2 separate regions of the Homo sapiens genome follow, and region 2 is linked to region 1. Evidence: promoter capture Hi-C in 16 types of primary human blood cells and fetal thymus (Javierre and others, 2016). All regions are on one chromosome and are shown on one strand. The core of a region is centred on a gene start or on the middle of the fragment in contact, and the rest is flanking DNA. Distances in the headings are between cores, read along the strand shown.

Evidence for each region. Contacts are between HindIII fragments. The CHiCAGO score rates a contact against its expected background, and 5 or more counts as called.
Region 2: a contact is called between a fragment that was not itself captured here and the fragment with the promoter of ABHD2 in region 1, in 3 of 17 cell types (total B cells, total CD8 T cells and naive B cells). The highest score is 5.8, in total B cells.

Annotation. Positions count from the first base shown.
Region 1 is chr15:89,083,758-89,091,694 of GRCh38, reverse strand. It overlaps ABHD2 (abhydrolase domain containing 2, acylglycerol lipase), which reads right to left and starts at 3,239. Exons shown (of 11, transcript NM_152924.5): 1 at 3,132-3,239. LOC124903573 reads left to right here. Exons shown (of 7, transcript XM_047433432.1): 4 at 412-560; 5 at 2,763-2,860; 6 at 3,009-3,627; 7 at 3,754-4,134. The coding sequence ends at 3,968. It overlaps CARMAL (coronary artery disease region linked MFGE8 regulatory lncRNA), which reads right to left. Exons shown (of 4, transcript NR_183882.1): 4 at 7,466-7,937. RefSeq lists enhancers at 2,580-3,099, 3,041-3,220, 3,831-4,476. The HindIII fragment of the contact is 11,698 bases long and covers 1,591-7,937 here.
Region 2 is chr15:88,607,386-88,615,322 of GRCh38, reverse strand. It overlaps MIR1179 (microRNA 1179), which reads right to left and starts at 7,216; the gene lies at 7,126-7,216. It overlaps MIR7-2 (microRNA 7-2), which reads right to left and starts at 3,498; the gene lies at 3,389-3,498. MIR3529 (microRNA 3529) reads left to right here and starts at 3,399; the gene lies at 3,399-3,476. It also overlaps a transcript of AEN not described here. RefSeq lists an enhancer at 1,605-2,289. The HindIII fragment of the contact is 1,684 bases long and covers 4,236-5,919 here.

The DNA.
Region 1 (7,937 bases), core at 1,990-4,489:
GGGCTTTTAAAAGAGCCAGATTTTAGGCAAAAAATAAGACAGACTCTACCCCTGTCTCCCATAAGACCAAAGAAATTATTTCCTGCTCGGGGCAGGAGCTCTGAACAAGGGCAGTGAGAACCACTACAGAGGTTATGGGTCCTGCCGGAGATTACCAGGAAAAGGCGTAAATGCTTAAAGCAACGAGTAACAGCAAATGAGAAGCTCATCCACCAAAATACTGAGAAAAGAGAGTGAGAAAGAGAGAAAGGGGCCCATATTAATACACAAGCAAAGAAATGAAAACTATTATTCTAAAATGGCTGATCTCTAGAACAGCTTAAACAAAAACCGAAATTCAGAATCAACTCAAGAAAAATAAAGCATGAGAAGGTGCCATTTAATGAAGTGATAATCTTTGGTTCAATCTAGAAAACAAGTAAAAACAGAAGAGAAAATCAAAGGTGACTGGATTCCTGCAAAAAATGAAAGTGGCAGGCATCTTTTCATCAAAAGGGAATTGGCTGGCACACTGAGAGTGCCTATTTGTCAGACCCACGCAGGCGATAAAGGAAATGAAGGTGAGAGTAAAAAGGGAAAAAAGTGAACGACCCTGACTAAAATGAGAGGAAAAAGACCATTCCCTTGTACTTGCCATCTGGTTTATTTCAAGCTTTGGAAAAGAACAGGAAAAACACAGATAAACCAGTGAACCAGCTAGATTGCCAGCACGGATCAGTCACACACTTTTGCTTCTGCCAGGCCAGGCAGGCGCTGCTGGTGCTCCCCCTATTCGAATGACTAAGTAACTTCCTTAAATGCAGTTGACACATGATCCCTGAACTTCCGAAAAGCACTTAATACAGTGGCTCATAAAATCTTAATCTAAAAATGTTCATCCATTTAGAATCAAGCTGCATCACACTCATCGCTTGGGAGGAGGGCTGAAGAGAGGGAATACATATTTGGAAGGACACCATGGACACGGGTATCATCCAGGACTTTACCATTTCGAGGGATTCCCACCCCTCACTGCCTGCTTTTAACGATAATTTTAAAGGGTTCAGAGCCTAAGAAGAATGTAACTGCAAGGGGGAACTAACATAGAAACTAAATTACCTGAATCACAAAAATAAGTAAGGTATAAAATGCAACGTGACTTGGAAACCCCTTGCAGCTGTCTGTGTTAAAATGAAATCTGGAATATGTTAAATGAATTTGGGGGTGGGGGGAAGGGGACTGGGGGAAAAATTAGCTCTTGATAGAGTATTGGGTGGTGGATATGAAGAAAAATGTACAAAAAGGCAACAGAATATCATATCTAGCAAATCTATTGTGCTTACCCTGTGCCAGGTACTGTTCTAAATGCTTCAGATGTAGTAACTCCATGCACTTCTCAAAACAATCTTCTAACATAAGTATCATTATTATTTCTGTTTTAGAGGTGAGGAAACAGAGGCACAGAGAAGTTAAGTAGCTTGCCCAAGGTTGTACAGCCAGTAAGAGGCAGGGCTGGGATTCAAATCCAGGCACTCAGGCACCAAAATCTGTCCTCCTAACCTCTCTGGACTCCCCTAGAACTTAAAACACTGAGAATGGGCAAACTAAGCTTGGAGTGAAATAAGTCATGCACTGGCTAGATCTAAATACAGTCAAGAGATCAACCCTTAGTCATGGGCCTGTGATGACCAACCAGCCCTGTGACCACCCCAGGCCTCAGTTTCCTCACCTGTGCATTGAGGAGACTGAATGAGAGTCCACCTAATTAGACTTAGATAGAGATGAGCTCTATCTAAGGTGCCTTCAGCTCTAAAATGTCACAGTCCGTGCTGACTACCAGCTGTATATGGACTGCTTTCTGACTAGATGTTCAAAGATTAATTCATCCTAAAACACACAGCAAGGTGTGTTAAGATTCTTTCTCTGCCTCCTGACCTTTAGATTATTATGTTCTCTCTATTCCGGCAAATGACAGAGGGTAGTGAAGGATTTCTCTTTTGGACTCTGCTTAATGTGGCTGTAAGGAAACGGCCTTCGAAAAGCTCTGGGCACAGATCTTGTTGACTCTGCCAAACCTGCAGTCTCTCCAGGTCCCTCTGTGGAGCCTGTTCTTGGAACATGCCTTTGGATTTGGTTACTGGAATGCAGGTGAAACTGACAAACTGGAGGTCCAGCAACCAAAAAAGAGAGATTGGGAAGATTAAGAGAGCGGTCCATGGTAGTTCAAATACAAGGAGTTTCACAGTGGCTAAATAAACCTCTATCTTTTTGTATAATCCAGTCTCTTTGCTAACACCCACTCTTGAGAGCTGAAACCTCAAAATTCATTATGGGTGAATTCAACAGCCACTTGGAACCTAATGGACCCCCAGAAGTACTCTTCTCAAGCTAGGCATCAAAGGCCACTTAGAGTGCATTTGTGGGTAGAGAAGGCCCTTACAGATGGGTCATGCAGTCCTCCCTTGGGAGTCCTAAGCATCCGACACAGGTGGCTGTCATCAGGCCACTGCTTGGACATCGCCAAGGTCGAGGCGCTAGCTGCCCGGCCTGGCAGGCAGCCTCCTGCGCTGCTGGACAGCTCTAGCTGTGGGAAAAGCTCACGAAGGGCCTAGAACAGTGCCGGTCGCGGGGCCGAACTCGGTAAATGTGCTTCCAAGTGGGTCAAAAGCTGCCTTTCTAGAACTTAAACCCACTGGTCCTGCGTGAGCCCCTGGAGCCCCGAAACACAGAGGCCTCTCGGGTATCTCGGGCTGTAATCAGGCCCCTCGGCCCTCTCCTTCCAGGTGCGGATCCCGGACCTTCTTCGCCGAGCCTGAACCGGCAGACCCCTCCCCAGGCCCCTGAAGACCCAGGAGTGAGCACCAATGGGGGAAAGGCCGCGGTCGGGGTTGTCCCCAACCTCGGTTCCTCGGGCAGAAGGGGACAAAGGGCCTCAGGAAGGCGTATCCCCCGCCGCGATCTGGGCTGTCCCCACCACTGGGCAAGCCAGCCCCTGGGACCCCCACGGCGCCAGATGACAGGCCCCCCAGGATCCCCTCAGGCTGCGGCGTGATGGGCCGAGCTACGCCGGGGACCTCGGGGCTCGGAGATTCGGTTCGACGGGTCCGGGGTGCGATCCCCGCTCCGCGGAGCTCGCTCGGCCGTGGCTTTACCTGCGTGTGATTGACTACAGGTGCTCAGCTCGCCCCCAGTCTGGTTCCTGCAGCTCCCCGGCTGCCAGCGGCGCTCATGGATATACAGCCGGAACCCCTGGCCAGTGCAGCTCCCGCCGCTACCGGCCCCGCCCAAGTAACTGCCGCCACGCCCCTGACGACCGCTTCTGCCACGCCCCTAACCACGGAAACCGCTTGTTCATTGGGCAGTTCAGCCGCTTCTCCACTTGCCCCGCGCGCTCATTGCGTCTAGGAGGGGATCCATTGATCAGCGAAGCTGTTCCTCAGAGTGGAGGCGGGATTCTTAGGGGAGAGCTCCTCAGCAATTGGTTACATTTGACGGCTTTAGTCCAGGGACCCAGACGCTACTGGATAAGGCCAGCCCGGAGTGGGCGGGGAAAGGGGAGGAGGGCTAGAAGGTGGGTCGTGTTTGATGTCGATGGGGGCGGGGTGAAGAGACGGGTAATTGTGACCGCAAACTGCTTTAGAGGGCTGGGTAAGGTCAGCTGTCGACTGGGCTCAGAGGAATGAGGTCGGCTGGTAGCTCAGCTGCTGGTAGCTCAGCTGGGGCTCTTATGGGTCCAGGCCGACTGACTGACTCACGTGTACTCAAATTTCGCAGGGGTGAAATTTGAGGTCATATCCCGGGAGAGAGGAAGAAGGGTCGTGAGTCACCGAACCCGAAGGAGAGGAAAAGATGTGGAGGCAGCGGTCTATGGCCTCTTCCAGCTCCGGACGGGGGATGGGGACGCTCTGGGCAATACGGGCCTCAGTTATTGTCCCACTGTCCTTTCAACCCTTAACCAACCCAGTTGGAGGCCGCCTGGAAGAATGTAGCCTTGGAACTAGGGCCTGGAATTGGGGCTCCTACCGGTTGTGTGGGCTTGGGCAAGTCACTTAACCTTCCCGCATGCTCCCTTCACTTGGCAACTGAGGGTAACAATAGTAGTTGATGAGAAGATTAAATAAACTCTGATAAATGCCAACAGTGGCTGGCACTCAACAGGCATTCAATCAAGGCTGATTCTTCCCCCATCACCCACTCACCTCATCCGGCTGGGAAACTAGGCCCATTTCTAAAATTCTATGAGCCTGAAACTGCTTTTGCAATGGCATGTCGTGTACCAAGAATAGAACACTTGAGCGACTTGAAATGCAACCCCTGTAGGGCAGACAAGGCCACCCTACCAAGGCCCCATAGGGCTCGGAGAGAGGGAGCAGGGGATGAAATGAGAGGAGCGATTTAGTCAGAGAAGGGAAGTGGCATTTGTTACCATGTAAATTTTTCCCAACATATTTCAGGTTGTGACAAGGAACAGTGGGCTGGCTCAAGTTTTATGGAGCGTAACCAAATAACATCCTTTGAAGGCTGATCAGCACCGGACCAGAAATCATTGCATGAGCTCTATCTGTCAGAGACCCCTGAAACCCATTCCCCATTCTGAAGGTGTAGACATCACAGAGTGTGGACAGAAATAGCTTCTCAGGCCTGAATGTAGCCCCAGACCCTTTGTGTCTGTCTTTGAAAGAACTCACAGCCATGGTACATCAGAGTGAAGGAGAAGAAAGAATCCTTTGCCATTGCTCTATTTTTCATTCAGTTGTCATGTTACCTTGAAAAAAAAAGGTTTCATCTCAGTGTTTATATATTCCTCTGTATTCTCTTTCATCTTGGAAAAGAAAAACCCAGGCTTCAGTAGCAAAGTCTCTTAGTGATGAACCCCATCGTCCTGACTCTGAGTTAAAACAGTTTGGACTTCCAAAAAAGAGCTTTAGATTATCACTAGATAAGTATATAAGGTAATGCATATGTTAACTAGCTTGGTGTAGCTATCCCACAATGTATACATGTATCAAAACATGGACCGGTACAGTGGCTCACGCCTGTAATCCAACATTTTGGGAAGCTGAGGCGGAGCCCAGGAGTCTGAGACCAACCTGGGCAACATAGTGAGACCCCGTCTCTACAAAAAATTTAAAATTTAGCCTGATGTGGTGGTGCATGCCTGTAGTCCCAGCTAGTGGGGAGGCTGAGGCAGGAGGGTTGTTTGAGCCCAGGAAGTTGAGGCTGCAGTGAGCTGTGATCGCACCACTGCACTCCAGCCTGGGCCACAGAGTGAGACCTTGTTTGACAAATAAACATAATAACATGATAAACATAAATAAGTAAAGCATGTTGTACATCATAAATATATACAAATTTTGTCAATTAAAAATTAATAATAATTTAAAAAATAGGCTGGGCACAGTGGCTCAAGCCTGTAATCCCAGCACTTTGGGAGGCCAAGGCAGGAGGATCACCTGAGGTCAGCAGTTCCAGACCAGCCTGGCCATCATGGTGAAACCCCATCTCTACTAAAAATACAAAATTAGCTGGGCATGGTGGCACACACCTGTAATCCCAGCTACTCAGGAGGCTGAGGCAGGATAATCGTTTGAACCCAGGAAGCAGAGGCTGCAGTGAGATTGCACCACTGCATTCCAGCTTGGATGACAGAGTGAGACTCTGTCTCAGAAAAAAAAAAACAAAAAAGATTTGTCACTAGTTTTGGAGGGGTGTGTACACATATCTATGTACACATTTGGTTCTGATCCACAGTTTTCTGGTTCTTGTCTTTAAACAGTGCTGCTTGGTAGCCATACACATGGCTGCATGCATGTTACGGAAATAGGCCCAGCCCAATACAGGTTTGCTTCTGCCTGTGTTTGCTAAGGGAAAGTGAGATGTCTTGTTAGGCCCTGAAAAGCATGAAGTGGCTCCTGAGATCCAGGATGATTTCTCCAACTTGATTCAGAGCCACAAAAAGCAGCTGTTAGGAGTAGATTGCAGATGGGCTCGCCATTGTGTAAATGGCTTTTTTCTCCCATCTCAGGAACATAGGTTCAGCCACCAGTTCCAGAAAAGGACATCTTTCCAGTTCAGGAATTCTAAAACACAATTATGTCACAGAGGCTCAAAAAGAGGCACAGACTGAGCTCAGGAAGAGGAGGAAGAGTAAAAGGATCCGGGCATCTTCTCTGCAGCTCTGGCAGGCTTAAAGAATGATCCATTATCATTTCCCAGCACACAGAACTGTTTCCTTAATTGTCTCTGGTTTCTGTTTCCTCCCTTCTGCTTGCAGTCTTGCCATATTCTGTTTAATCATATTATTTCATTCTATAAATCATTTCTGAGGGAGGCCATTTAGGAGACAAAATGGACTTATTTTTGCCTTCAAGTTTAGTGGCCCGTTGGGATTGAGGATTTGGTGAGCCTTGGCCTGAGATAAGCAGGTGTTGGGATGTGGCTGTAAAGTGAATTTTCAAAACCGTGACAGTACCTTGTAATAAAAAAGAACAAGGGAGAGGGTATGCCCCAGTCACCTTCTGGGATGGCCAAAGCTGCAGGACTTCATTAAAGCAGAACTGCTTCTAACTCAACTGGGGCCTCTGCAGGATTTACTAACCTGAGAAAGTCAAGGTACTCTGGGAGACAGCAGGGAGCAGTGGTTGGAGCAGATAATATGTTCTATTTATTCTTTTAAGGAAAATCAGCAATTCACTCAGTTTGTCATTTTTGTTATTCTGTGTCCTCGGGGGATGGTTCAGAGAAAGGGGATTTGGAAGCTCTACTGCTGGGGATTGGATCCTGATTCCATCCTTCCTAGCCTTGTGACCTTGGGCGAGTACAGCACATCTCTGTGCCCTACTTTCTTCTGTAAAACGCAGAGGACAGTGAAGTGCTTGTCTCATGGGGTCCTTTGAGTGGCAGATGAGTTCACAGATGCAAAGTGCATCAAACAGTACCTGGCAAATACCTAAAAATGTTTAATAAATGTTTGCCACAGCTATTATAGGAGCCCATTTCAGAACCTTCCTCTAAGGTCCTCACTCATTTTCTAAGTTCTAGCCCTCAGAAGTAGTGATCACAGGATTCAGGATTTTTAGAAAATATAGATAGACTTTATTTTTTAAAGCAGTTTTAGGGCCAGGCGCCGTGGCTCATGCCTGTAATCCCAACACTTTGGGAGGCTGAGGTGGGCGGATCACTTGAAGCCAGGAGTTTGAGACCAGTCTGGTCAATTGGCGAAACACCGTCTCTACTAAAAATACAAAAATTAGCTGGGTGTGGTGACGTGTGCCTGTAATCCCAGCTACTTGGGAGGCTGAGGCAGGAGAATCGCTTGAACCTAGGAGGCGGCGGATGCAGTGAACCAAGATCGTACCACTGCACTCCAGCCTGGGCAACAGAGGGAGACTCTGTCTCTAAATAAATAAATAGTTTTAGGTTTATAACAAAATTAAGTGGAAAGTACAGACAGTTCCTATATACACACTCTCCAACACATGCAGGATTTTTTTTTTTTTTTTTTTTACACTAGCAAAATCTCACCACCTGGTGCGAGAAACTTTTCCTTTCGAATATGGTTACCAAAAACGGTTTGAGGACCGAGTTAAGGTTTTTGAGACTAGACCTCATCAGTGTAATCACTGTGAGGGAAATGGAAAGGATGAGGCTAAGAGAATAATAGTAAAAGCTGCAGCCTGGAGGTTCATAAAGTATTCCTGCAGTCATGACATGGTGCAGTCTGAGGGATCCAATATTGTGGCTTTATTGTCACAGCCGGTGCAGTCTGCATGCAGTCTAGGAAGGAGGTTCAGAATGTCCTGTTACCAGGTCGACTGTCTGGCTTCTTATTGGTAATGGAGATGAAGTTTGTTTAGAGGCTTTAAGTCCCAGCATGCAATAGTTCCATGAGGACAAACTATGATGAAATTCAAAAATGTGGTCCTTTTGTTATTAGAAAAGGCTTTCTGGTGGCCAGT
Region 2 (7,937 bases), core at 3,828-6,327, 480 kb after region 1:
TTTTAATGGAAGACTGGAGGGATTTGATCGAGGGGAGTTTTATTCTCTGCCGTTCCTTGCTCCATTCTAGACTAGAGTTCCCTCACATATAAAATTAATCCTTCATTCAGTGGTCCCCAGCCTTGACTCAACATGCTGAACTTGAAAAAACACAGACGAGGCCGGGCGCGGTGGCTCACGCCTGTAATCCCAGCACTTTGGGAGGCCGAGGTGGGCGGATCACGAGGTCAGCAGATCGAGACCATCTGGCTAGCACAGTGAAACCCTTTCTCTACTAAAAATACAAAAAAATTTGGCCGGGCGTGGTGGCGGGCGCCTGTAGTCCCAGCTGTTCGGGAGGCTGAGGCGGTAGAATGGCGTGAACCCGAGATCGCGCCACTGCACTCCAGCCTGGGCGACAGAGCGAGACTCCATCTCACAAAACAAAACAAAACAACAACAACAACAACAACAAAAAAGCACCACAGACGCTTGGGTCACACCCCACCCCAAGATTCTGATTTAACTGGTCTGGGGTGGGGCCTGAACAGGAAGGTTTTTAAATCTCCCCAGGTGTTAGTAGTTTGTCGCTGAGACTGACAATTGCCGCTAAAGTGGAGTTACCTAAAGCTTCCAGCAGAGGACGCTGCCTCTCTGCTCATCCAGGGAAACGTGAGCCGGGAAACCTGACAGCTGCAGTTGCGATGGGTGGGGCTGGAAATCAGGCTGTTTCGTAAACCCGGTTGATGCAGTTAAGGCGACGGGCCAGATGCCGTGACCCTTGTATCGCCGAGGTTTTTGTGTTGAGACTCCAATAAAGTTACCTTAAAAAGTAGTAAGTTAGGGCCAGGCGCTGTGACTTACGCTGTAATTTCAGCATTTGGGGAAGCCAAGGTGGTAGGATCACCTGAGCCCAGGAGTTTAAGACCAGCCTGAGCAACACAGGGAGACTCCGTCTCTACAAAAAATACTGTAATTAGCCAGGGTGTGGTGGTGGGTGTCTGTAGTCTCATCTGATCGGGAGGCTGAGGGAGGAGAATTGCTTGAGCCCAGGAGGTTGGGGTTGCATTGAGCCGAGATCACACCACTGCACTCTAGACTGGGTGACAAAGCCAGACCCCATTTCAATAAATAAATAAATAAATAAAAACAGTAGTAAATTGTCTATTTTGCTGAGTGACCAAGAGATAAGTCACAACCTCTGCAGGCCCTGATTTCAGCATTTTTAAAGTGGGGAGGGACTTGGTCTATATTCATTCTTTCAATATATATTGAGTCCCCTGAAATGGGCAAGATACTGATCTGGAAGGGGAAGGATACATATTTAAATAGGATTAAATTCCTACATGATAGGGGAGACTAATAGAAAGATGGTGGTTTCCATTTTTTCCTATTTCAGGATGGCAGATTTGTGGGTGCACAAGGCTGGTGAAGAGGACAACCATGAAAACTATGAAAGAAAAGGCAGAAGAGACCAATATTGGGTATATACCCATGCTATTTTATATTATGACACTTCACTTGCCTACTTATCGTAATAACCTAGCAAGGTAGATGTGATCAATTCTGTTTCACAGTTGAGGAATCTGAGACTCAGAGATGTTAAGTGACTGACTCAAAGTCACACAGCTCGTAAGCAGTGGAGCCAAGATTGAAACTGGCACATGTTTGACTTCAGAGCCAGGACTCCCCCCACCACTTAACAAAGGCTGTCATATCCATCCCTCAAATCAGGAATGCACCCCACATCCCCCCCCGAGATGCTTGTTTCACTGAGACACAATCTCTCCCCGTTCCATCTCCAAACCAGCCCCAGAGGCTGAGGGCTGCCCAGGAGAGACTCAACTCCCCTCCTCTCCTGTTCTCCAGCTCTGCCCTTCCTGCCCAATCTGGGCTTCTCTCCCGCTGTGAAGGACAGATACCTGCTGAGTGACACCAATTTGCAGACTTCTGAAGTGTAAATGAGATTTCTAATAGGACTGGCTTCCCACTGGCTTCAGGCAGGGTTAGGAGTAAAGGGAAATTTAAGACTGGAAGTGCAGAAGAAGAGAGCCAGTTTGTAGGATAGGGAGCAGCAGAAGCAGAGGCAGCCAAAGTCTCTGGGTAGAAGTGAAGGGCTGACTTGGTTCAGAGAGGTCAAGTGCCTTGCCAGAGGTCACACAGCTAGCAACCGGAAGAGGTAGAATGAGCTCAGCTAATGGTTGCATTTTTAGCATTCCCTAAATGAGTACGATCCCCAACCCCCAACTTTAGTTTGTAATATGCTTTAGTCTCCTCTGCTGTATGGATGGAGGAGGGTGGGAATATACTTAGGAATAGGGAGGGCATTTGGATTTGTTGCTTGAAAATTAATCTCCACTGAAAGTGTCATCACTGTAACTTGGTGCTCACCTTAGGGCAAGGTACCCCCCAGGCAGAGGGATCCCAGGCAGAAAGGCTGGGAGGCCAGGCAAGGTGGCTGATGCCTATACTCCCAGCACTTTGGGAGACCGAGGTGGGCAGATCCCCTGACGTCACGAGTTCGAGACCAGCCTGACCAACATAGCAAACCCCTCTCTCTACCAAAAATACAAAAAATTAGCTGAGTTGGTGGCATTCACCTGTAATCCCAGCTAGTCGGGAGGCTGAGGCACAAGAATCACTTGAACCCAGGAGGTGGAGGTTGCAGTGAGTCAGGACTGTACCACTGCACTCCAGCCTGGGACAGAGTGAGACTCTGTCTCAAAAATAAATAAATAAATAAATAAATAAATAAATAAATAAATAAATAAAAGGCTGGGAAATGCTTTTTCTGATCACTAATTCTAATTGTATTCCTGCCACAGTGGGGGATGGTCCCCAAGCACTGGGCTTTTTTCCCTTGGCCACACCTCTGGATGTAGCAGCACAGAGGCAGGTACTGGGACCAAGAAATTCCATACACACAAGTCCACTCCCTCAGCTGTGGAGCAGGCACCAGACAAGCTCCGAGGTCAGGTGTGTCCCCCCTGCTGCCAGGTACACTGAACATCCGGGAACCTCGGTCTCCAGTGCATACCTCTCGGTGCCCGCATACACTGTGGCTGTCGGGCCACAGACAATGAGGCCCTGAGCCCCAGGATGTGGAGTCACAAGGTGCCTCCATTATAGGTGCCCCAAAGTGATTGTTGGGGGAATTAGTAATTAAGGAGGGTTTTTCTCCCCCTGCCCTTCAGGTAGTGGTATGGAAGCAGTCCACTGCTCCCTGAAAACAGAGACCCTGCCCCACTTCCCTGCTCACACCATAGTTTGTCCATGTTTCTGGAAGAGTCTGCCGATGGGTGTTTAGGGTGGTGACCTGAGATGTTTTCTAGGAAACACAAAAGATACAAAAAAGAACACGTGGAAGGATAGCCAAAAAGGGGGGCTGCCCCCATTTCCTGCACCCCGCTGCGATGGCTGGCACCATTAGGTAGACTGGGATTTGTTGTTGAGCGCAGTAAGACAACAACAAAATCACTAGTCTTCCAGATGGGGCCAGCCGGTCCACTCTGTATCCAGGCCAGTTCTGCAAGGCGTTCGAGGACCACCCCCCTCCCCTCGCCACCAGGTCAGCGGTCTGGATGCTCCTTCAGGCGAGGCGTTGTCTCCGCTCCTATTACTAAGTTCATCTTTGAACACCTCTCCTCACCTCAGAATTCCCTGGAGAAATTATTTTTTCTTACTTTTCCCTTTTTTCTGGAGTGTTCTACTTTCTATAATGGACACAGTTGTTTTGTTTTGTTTTGGTGAGACAGGGTCTTGCTCTGTCACCCAGGCTGTAGTGCAGTGGTGCAATCACAGCTCACTCCAGCTTCAACCTTCCAGACTCGAGTGTTCAAGTGATTCTTCCACCTCAGCCTCCCTAGTAGCTGAGACTACAGCTAATTTTTTTTTTTTTTTTTTTTTTTTTAGTAAAGACAAGGTCTCAGTATATTGCCCAGGCTGGTCTTGAACTCCTGGGCTCAAGTGATCCTCCTGCCTCAGCCTCTCAAAGTGCTGGGATTATAGACGTGAGCCACTGCACCCAATTTGAGCATATTTCCTTTACAAACAGGGGAATTATTTTTAAAGAGAAGCAGGCAAGTGGCTCATTTCTCTCTTTCCTTTACTAATCATAAAGCATTGAACCACCATGCAGAAGAGAAACTAGAGCTTGGAAATGGTGACCCCTCTCTACTGGTGCCTCCCCCTTCTGGAAGCCTATGGGCATGGCCCATGGTGAAAATTCTTCCTGTGGTTACTGAGCCCTGGAAGCTTCAGAATGAAGTCAGAGTGGTGGTGCTGGGGTAAGCAGAGCAGGAAGAGGAAAAGGGGAAATGGTTGTGGACAGGAGGCTGGTGGAATCCTGGCCCAGTCATCCCCTCCCTGCAGGCACAGCGCTGGGCTCCCTGGTTAATTTCCCTTGCAGTGTGGCACTGGTGGAGGAGAGGCAAAGCCCCTGCTGCCTGGGCCAGCCTCTAATTGCGCTGGCAGGACACATCCGCTCCTTAATTAGCAAAAGCCACAATATCCTGGCGGCTCAGAGAGCATGGCCCTAATTGTATTTCTGCAGCAACTGAAGGATAATTACCCTTCCCTATTGGTGCTGCTTTTAATTCTTTCTCTTTTTAATTGTGAGCACTTCCTCTTTAGCCCACCCTTCCATCCTTGGGTTTATTCTCTCTATCCAGAATGGGGGTGGGGGCTTGCCTGGTGATGGAGACGCTCAGGAGCAGGAGGAGTGGGGGGAGTCATGGAGAAGACTGGCAATACCTAGCTCTGAGTCCCAGCCCCTTCCAGCTGTCAGCCTGAGACAGGGCACATCTCTGCCATGGGTCTGAGAAAAACCAAGAAGTTCTTTTGTGGAAGATGTAAGGGAGAGGTGTTCCTCCCCCAGAGGCTCTTTATGACCCTCTTCAGTCTACCCCGCAGTGAGGTGCTGGCTCTGAAATTCCCAGCTGTAGAAAACTGAGACCTCCTTTCCCCATCCTTTAATCTATCAAGAAACAGAGATGGATGTGTGGTCTTTAATTTCTTTTACAAAAAAAAAAAAAAAATAGCCCCGTGCCTCTTTGCCACTGTTGAGAGGAGGGTTAGTCCTTCAACCTTGAATTGTTTTAGAGACAAGGACCTGAGGGTACCATTAGAGAACAATGCTAACTAAGGTAACCCCTTGGTTAATAGGAGAGCTTAGCACCCTAGGTATTTCTAGGAAAAACAGGCCTTTCTTAGGGACCTGGCAAATAAACTTTGAGAAGTAATAGACAAGCTAAAATGCACCACAAAGAGAGTTTGGAGAGAACCACAGCATCTCTCTGGATGTCAGCTTGCAGGACTGACTGATCTAGCTTACATGAGCAACCCTGGCCCTAAAGCCACCACCCAAACCACTGCCCTGCTAGAAGCTCACTATGAGAGCAGGGACTCTCACTCATTATTCTTCCAAGTGCCTCGCGCACAGCCTGGCCCGTGATAAATGAAACTGGTTGGCAAAGAAGCAGAGTTCAGAGACAGAGTAGGATTGTGAGGTGTGAACAGGGTAAATCCATTTTCATTGGCTTTTTCCTTACAGATCCAATGAAGATGAATTTGAACTGATTGTGGCCCTAGTTTTCAAAATTCTTTAATTCTGGGCTCTATCTGAATTGGGAGAAGATGCAAGCAATAAAAGAGGCTGCTGTAGTCTCAAAGAAATATATTTTGAAAAAATGACCTGCCCTTGAGCCCACCAACTTCCACTCCCCACTTCTAATTTCTTTCCTCTGAATTTAGAGCTGTTCCCTTAGCAACGCTTGTTTCCATGGTTTCCTCCATGACAATGATCCCAAACCCCTCCTCTCTTTTACCTCATGACAGTAATGGATGATGGGGATCCTCAATGTGGCCACTCCATGTTACCATGGTAACAATTAACTGAGCCTTAATTTATCTTTTGTGAAGAGGGCTAGGGAATATGAAGCTTTTGATTTGGAGGGGGAGGGTCCAGGTCTAGAGCTACCATTCTCATAAAGAAGAAGATAAGCTATTTGTCTTAATACTAGCCAGTAGGATTTAGTTCAAACATTTGTTCAGCCCTACTTTAAGCACAACTGAGTTTGAGGGAATCAAAGGGGTACAAGACATAGCTCCTAATATTGAAGGGCTAATAGTCTAGCACTAGGGCTCATGGTACCGCTGAACTCTGGCACAGATGGGGCCAATAAAGAATATGGCTCTTGATAGCACCGTGATGATCAGGCATCTATCCATTCCCAGTATCCCCTCCTGCCAAGAACCAAAAAAAGACTGACTGAAGTGGTCTGTACTCACATTAAGACTTCTTCCGGGCTGTTATCAGAGAGTTTCTGTCCTGAAAGGGAAAGAACTTTGACTTCCCCTCTTTTAGGGAAGTGGGGACCAATGCCAGCATCCCTGAGTAGGACTATTTGGTGCAGGAAAAAAGAGAAAAATAAACAGACCTGCCCATTGCCAGTGCAACAAAGGACTGGGATAATCTCCAGTTCCAGGATAACCATCACCTACCTGCAACAAGTCTTCCTGGGAAGCGATGAGTCAGCTCTTACATTGAATTAAAGAGTCATTGTCTCCATCCATTCAGCTTTTCTATTTGTCACTGAAAATTCAGGCCAAAAGCGCAGCTCTGAAGAATGAAAGTGGAAAAACAGACAAATAAAAATCAAAGTGAAGAGGACACCAAACACCAAACACAAAACACCAAAGCTGAGAGCTGAGTAGAGTGAATCCACAAGCTGAGATATCCATTCTGCATCACAAGCAATGCAGTTCTTCCGACTTCTAGCTTTCCATCTTCATCTCCAAAAGTTTTCACCAAATCTCTAATAATGAGGACCAATTATCTATTTTTAGGGGAAATCACAAAATTCTCTGGACCCTCAGTGTGCTGGTAACAATAACCTGCACTGACTTGGAAAGATGATCACAGTATCTCCTAAAATGAAGGGGGAAAAAAGCCATAGGACAATGTATAAGGCAGGTATGTTGAAGTAAGCTGCGAATAGGTAGGTAAAAAATGTCATCCTTGCAAGTCAGTGCAATCTGGATTAGCCAAAGTCAATTCCAGATCCTGAGTCCAGGACTCTGAGTTCTGTCCTTTGCTACTGGATGGAACTAAGGCAGATTCAATCCTTCTGTGTACCCTGCTCACTCAGCTAGTCAGAAAAGGATAAATGGCATCCTCTTATTGGTTGACAAGGCAATACACACCAACCAATGAAAGAATGCTTCTTCCTTTCCAGCCAATAAGAGCTCAGTTATCTTCTTGAAAGTAGACCCTTTGTCCATAAAGAAAATAAGCAGAAAGTGAATAATAATTAAAAAAAACCACACAACTGTTGCTATGGGACATTACTGATGTGATCAATGATAGCTGCCCCGGACAATTCATAAAGGAAAGCACTTCTTTGGGAAGAAAAGTACAAAAAGCAGACCAGCTGTCTGGTCTGGTCTAAAGGGAAGTTTCTATAGTAACATGGGAGAGAAAAGCATTTTAAAAGCATTTTAATGTAAATACCCGCAAAACTATCAAGTCAGTTCACCGAGCGAATTTTTGACCTTTTAAACTTATGCTGAAATTATAATGAATAAAAATTCTTATATTAATAATAAATGAAGGAAATGGAGAGAAAAGAAGAGAACAAGAGGAGAAAAGAAAAGACCTGTGTGTTTATGGTTCAGGGCATCACAGATAAAGATATCACAGTTCCTGCCTGAAACAGAAATGTTCTCCAACCCCGTGTTGTCAAGTAATATCTCAGTTTAAAACAAACTTCTTTTTGTTGTTGTTATTGTTGCTGTTTTTCGGGAAAGAGAACGTTCATGGCACTTAGACTTATTTGAGATGAAACAGTGCACAGAGCACAGGCTGTTCTGGTAACTTGCTAGCGATTTCCTCTCAAATCATTCTGAGAATGTTACAGCTGCCTTTGGAAAATTATGAGTAAAATAATTTCCTACCCAGA